Regions from separate parts of the Homo sapiens genome. Here region 1 is linked to region 2. The links are contacts of gene promoters, found by promoter capture Hi-C in human tissues and cell types (Jung and others, 2019). All regions are on one chromosome and are shown on one strand. Each heading gives the region's core, a stretch centred on a gene start or on the middle of the fragment in contact. The rest is flanking DNA. Distances are from core to core; before and after follow the strand shown. Region 1 overlaps DNM3 (dynamin 3). Region 2 holds the start of C1orf105 (chromosome 1 open reading frame 105).

What was found. Contacts are between HindIII fragments. The study calls those that stand out against the background at their distance.
Region 1: a contact is called between a fragment that was not itself captured here and the fragment with the promoter of C1orf105 in region 2, in 3 of the 25 tissues and cell types used here (adrenal gland, dorsolateral prefrontal cortex and hippocampus).

The regions. Positions count from the first base shown.
Region 1 is chr1:172,273,656-172,276,355 of GRCh38, forward strand. The region is part of intron 15 of DNM3 (dynamin 3); the gene reads left to right. Among named protein-coding and RNA genes, the nearest start is that of DNM3OS, 130 kb to the left of the region's middle. The HindIII fragment of the contact is 5,960 bases long and covers 1-2,700 here.
Region 2 is chr1:172,419,409-172,422,108 of GRCh38, forward strand. C1orf105 (chromosome 1 open reading frame 105) reads left to right here and starts at 1,277. Exons shown (of 7, transcript NM_139240.4): 1 at 1,277-1,498. The coding sequence starts at 1,478. All of the region lies in intron 1 of LOC102724528 (a long non-coding RNA gene), which reads right to left. The HindIII fragment of the contact is 11,853 bases long and covers 1-2,700 here.

The DNA of each region.
Region 1 (2,700 bases), core at 137-2,636, 150 kb before region 2:
CTAGTACACAACTTTACTTTCCATTAATTGCCAGGTAATAACATCATCACATCATGTCCCTTTTTGATAAACTTCTCTGTATATTCATAACAGAATGAAAGTGAAAAAAGCAAACTAGTATTATGACAATGGTTTTGATCTGGAGAAACATCTGAAAGGATCTTGGGGACTCCTGAAAGAGTCCTGTGTACCCCAGTAGTCCCCAGATAATACTTTGAGGACTATTGTGAAATGGCAGTTATGCAATACGTGATATAATGATTCAGTGGTGTCACATCAGCTTAAGCTGTATTTTCATGCAATGGGGGGTGTGCTTATTGCATAAGTAAGTCTGTTGGATGTTTCTCTTACTTGTGAAGAATCAATATTACATTGATTGCCAAATTTGATTTTTCAAGTCCCCTACACACTGTCGTAAAGCAGATGGTAAAGACAGAATACCTCTGAAAAGTCAAACTCATGTCAGCTAAATTGATAGATTTATCTTAGCATCGAAAGCCATGTCACTCAGTCCCCTCCTACTCAACCCCAATATAAAAACCGAAACAGTGATGGAATTTCCAGAGCATTTGTTTACTCCCTTTAACTACCATTGCTCTTTGCTGAGTGATGATGCAGGGCAGATGGTGTCAGGGAGAGAAATCATCAACTAGCTCAGGATTGAAAGGGGATGAAGATGCTAGAAATGTGTTGATGTTTGAGAAGGATGTGTGGAAATGAAGAAGTGACTAAAGAGGACAGCCTTATCACCAACAACATAAGCATATCCCTTGCTCTTTAATTCTGCCCCAGAGGGAAAGGAACAGGGCTTCAGTCTCAAATGAGAGAGCCACTTTTCTAGTCTGGGGTAAAGATATCATGCATACCTTTCCTTCCTTCCCCTCCACTGTGATAGATCTGAGAAGTGATGAAAGCCAAGAAATATTGAGCTGTTGGATTTTTTTTACTAAATGCTATGTATGCCAAGGGTTATTTGCTTAATATCCTTCATCTTGGATCAAAATGGTGAGAAATTTAAAACCGAGAATTTCCCTGAAACACTGGTTTTTAAACCTTCTCTAGTGAAGGTTTTTTTTTTTTTTTTAATTTTCAATTACTTGCAGATCAATGCAAGGTCCTATTGCACGCCTGAGCAGTTTGCAACTTGCATGGCATGAGACTCACCTTATGAGTTCAGCAGCACTCAAACTGGTCTAAACACTTGAACAAGACAGACTAGTCCACTGATCAGGGCTTGGATGTCATAGCAGTGTCAAATTGCTACAAGGGCTTCCAACTGCTTACTCTTTGTTTCTGTATTTTTGTCATTATACACTAGTAAACAAGCAGTTCTGGGACCTGAAGCAATGCTCTGTTATTGGCCATCACAAATGTAAGGTTGAATTTGCCACATGCACTGTCTAGTCAAGGTTAATTATTCCTAGACAACTATGACTTGCCATCTGTGTAGCTGTTGCTAGATGCACAAGTAGAATTAGTTATGGTAGTGTGGGCTCATCAGGTAGAACCATTCAAAGTGTATATCACTTATATCTCATAGATTAGAACACATGGTCCAGATACTTATTAAATTATTGGATAGATCAAATTTCCATTAACTATACCTCTAACACAGAGGCTATCATCTGTGTGAATATACAGATGATAGAACATACAGAACAAGAACATGCAGGCTCAATATTTGTCACTAAAGTTATTTTATCATTAATTATTTTCAACATAATCTAATTTTCTTCTACAATCTGGAAAATATTTGGATTTTTTGGCATGCTGCATGTCTGCTTCTTTATAGTGCCTTCTTTCAAATACCTGAATCATAAATGAAGAAAAAAAAACTTGAGAAAGATACAGTTGTTGACATTTCAACCTTCTTGCTCTTTTCAAAACCACCTTACCTGCTAACTTCTGTTGCCTCTCCCCACCAGAGATGATTATTAATTTTTTCTTTCACATGGCTCAACTGGTCTGACACTCTTGGAAAACAAATATTTGTTTCCAGCCCATGGAAACACACATAGTGTACTCAAGCCAGAAGTTCTGAGAAAGCACACTGTCAGGTGCTGCTACTCCTTTGGAGAACCTGGCTCCCATGAAAACATCTGAAATATAGTTCCGTAACATCATCTATTATTAAAAGATAATTTTTATTGCCTTGAAATTTCTCCTTGAAGAGTATTTCCTTACTGAAGTGTTTTATGTTTAACTTGTCAAAAATTAAGGAAGGCATGAAAGTTGCCTTATGGAACTGAAGGACTCGCATTCTGCGTTGTCTTTCCAGAGGACTGAATTAGTAATGTGTAAAAGTGGCTCAGAAAAAGATATCAGCATATCATCAGGAAGAGGTTTTTAATACTCTTAAGATTTTATGTATTACATATATAGTATATATTTTTAGTATAGCTTTTTAAAAATAGAATGGGCAACTTGTGAGTTAGCAAGCCTCCCCCCATTTCCAGAGCACTTTAGCAGAAGCTAGATAACAACTTATTGGTAGGGTGTCCTAATTTATCATCACTCTTGAGAGTAAAAGGGGACAGTATTAATAATTAGTGTGGGACAGCACTTGGCAATAAACTGGGACTGTCTGGGCAAAAAGAAACAAATGGTAAATCCTACCTGTGAATGATGTCATAGAAGAGAGTCCTGCCTGATGGGGGAATTTGGCTTAGGTGACCCCTATAGTATATACTCACTTGACTA
Region 2 (2,700 bases), core at 27-2,526:
GGAACCCCCAGTTGTAAAAGGGAGAGTCCTCATTAGTAATGCTGTTTCTTCGGACCACAAATTTTTTTAAGGACTGAGTTCTCCACTCAAAAATGAAAAATCAGTTTCTTGGTTTAAAATGTTCATATGGCATGTTACATTATTTTAATTGTATCCCCGGTCCAGTGACTACCATTTAAAATCAGTGATAACTAAGAAAGTTCAAAGGCTCCAAACCAAGGCATCAACTGAAGCTCATGTATAGCAGGAAGGAGGTGACTTGATGTAAAATAGCACATAGCATGCAGTCTTTTGTCCTTTCCTTCCCCTCCAGTCCAGGCATTTGATTTTTAAATCAATATTCTTAGTGGATAGCATTCTTCATCCCAATAGACAAAAATGTACCTAGATGATTTCATACCACCTCCCCAAATGAAAACCGAAGTTGTCAAAGAGAAGGTTTTCTTCAATTCATTTTTTAAAAGTGTTTGGTACTTTTCCACTTTGTCTTAAACATGGACTTATTTTTATATGCAGTGTTACACAGTTTAGATGTATAAAACTTAAATTGACCTGATGAATGATGAGAAGGAAAAACTCCAGTCATAACAGAATGAAATGACAACCTTACTCAGTTTTCCTTAACAAAGAAGTGTGTTCCCTTCCTTACATTCTATAGGCAAGAAAAAAGAGGGCAGGGGAAAGGGATGGGGGGCAGCCTGGAGTAAAATTAAATTATGCTAAGATTTGTTAATATGTATTTAGTAAATAGTATTTCTATGTTTCATAATATACCTTTCCCCAACTCTTCTTACCTCCACCTCCACCCTGCTATGTTTAATAGACTTGAAAAATTACTCCCTTTTTCAGAGTTGATCATAACTCAGGATAGTCAGGAAGAGCCAAACTATTATGCCTTTAGTAAACATAATATTCCTTATATATTTTCATTCCTTTATTTATGCATCAAACATTTCTTGAATTCATGATAATGTCCTGGACCCTGGGAATACCAGAGAAGTAACAGAATAAAAGTAGCTTACAAAATAGCTAAATAAGCAATTACAATGTAGTGCTACAATAAGAGAAAAGTTTGGTTGTCTTTCCAGGGAGAACTGTTCTGACTTCAGTACTGAAGCAGCTATCTGAGTTTTAGTATACTGTTATCAACTTTACCCAACACATGCTAATGTTCCAGAACATTGTGATTTTGACTTCTAACAAAGAAAGGAATACTAGAACTCATTTCAGCCAATCAGAAACTGAGCTTTTCATTCTGAATGGAATTATATGATTCAAGATGTAAATCACACAGATGTTGGTAGAGAAAAAGGCATACTGGTATTGAAACTGTAAACTGGCCTGTTTACTTCGTCTCCTAACAAAAAACACTTTGGATTCAGGTTCTCCACAGCAGTCTTCCACTGGCCACAGTGAGGGGAGCTAGGTTTCCCCAGTCTCCAGCTAGAAAAACTCAGAACATCTAAAGATCTGAAAGATGGAAAAAAGAGAACTAAAGGTAGGAAAAAAATAAATGAAACTTCCAATTCTTTCCTTATGGGGTTACCCTGGTAAATGTTTGTATGCCTTGGAGGCCACATAAACATTGAGGGGTGTTTCAACAGACATCCTAGAAGTTGAAAGCCAAAAGAAGGTAAGGAAATAACAGCTGATGTTCAGTTACAGGTGAAGATAATTTTAATGGGTTTGGGGCATGATAAATTTCAATGCTCTTTATCGTATAGTTTGGAAAAAATGTTGTACTTGCCAACATCTTTTATAACTCAGCATTTAAGTATGATTTTTTTAAATCCTCAGAAAATTGATACCAGATTCTTTAGTGCAGTTCCCTGAGATTCTGAAGTAAACCTTCTCAACTGTGAATGCACTTTAAAACAATGAATCTCAGTCACAGGAAGTTAAGATTGCTGAGAAAGAAAAAAAAACTTGTATAGACTTTTATAATTACTAGGGTCTAAATCTGAATAAATCACATTGAGCTTATGACACTGTATGTTTCCTATTTAAAGGGATATACTAGCTGTCTCTATTACCATAGTACAGGTGCTCCTTGACTTATGATAGGGTTACATCTCAATAAACCACCACAAGTTGAAAATATTGTAAGTCAAAAATGCATGCAATACCCTGATGAACCCATGATAAAGTAAAAAAATCCTAAGTTGGGGAGGACGCAGAGCAAGATGGCCAAACAGAAGCCTTCACTGATTGTTCTCCATGCACGAACATCAAATTTAACAACTATCTACACAAAAAAGCACCTTCATAAGAACCAAAAATCAGTGATCACAAAGTGATCACAGTACCTGGTTTTAACTTCGTATTGTTGAAAGAAGCACTGAGGAAGATAAGAAAGACAATCTTGAATTGCTGACACCACCCCTCCCCCATCCCCTGGCAGCAGCCACATAGTGTGGAGAGAGAATCTGTGCACTTGGAGGGAGGGCACAGCGATTGTGGGACTCTAGAATTCAGTGCTGCCAATACGGGGCAGAACTTAGCTGTTGCCAATGGAGGGACCATTTAGACCACCCTTAGCCAGAGGAGAATTGCCCATCCCAGGTTTCAGAAACTGAGTTTTGACTACCTCCACCACCATGGGCTAAAGTGCTCTGAGGTCCTAAATAAACTTGAAAGCCTGTCTGGGCCACAACAACTGCAATACCCAGGCAAGTCCTAGTGCTGTGCTGGGCTCTGAGC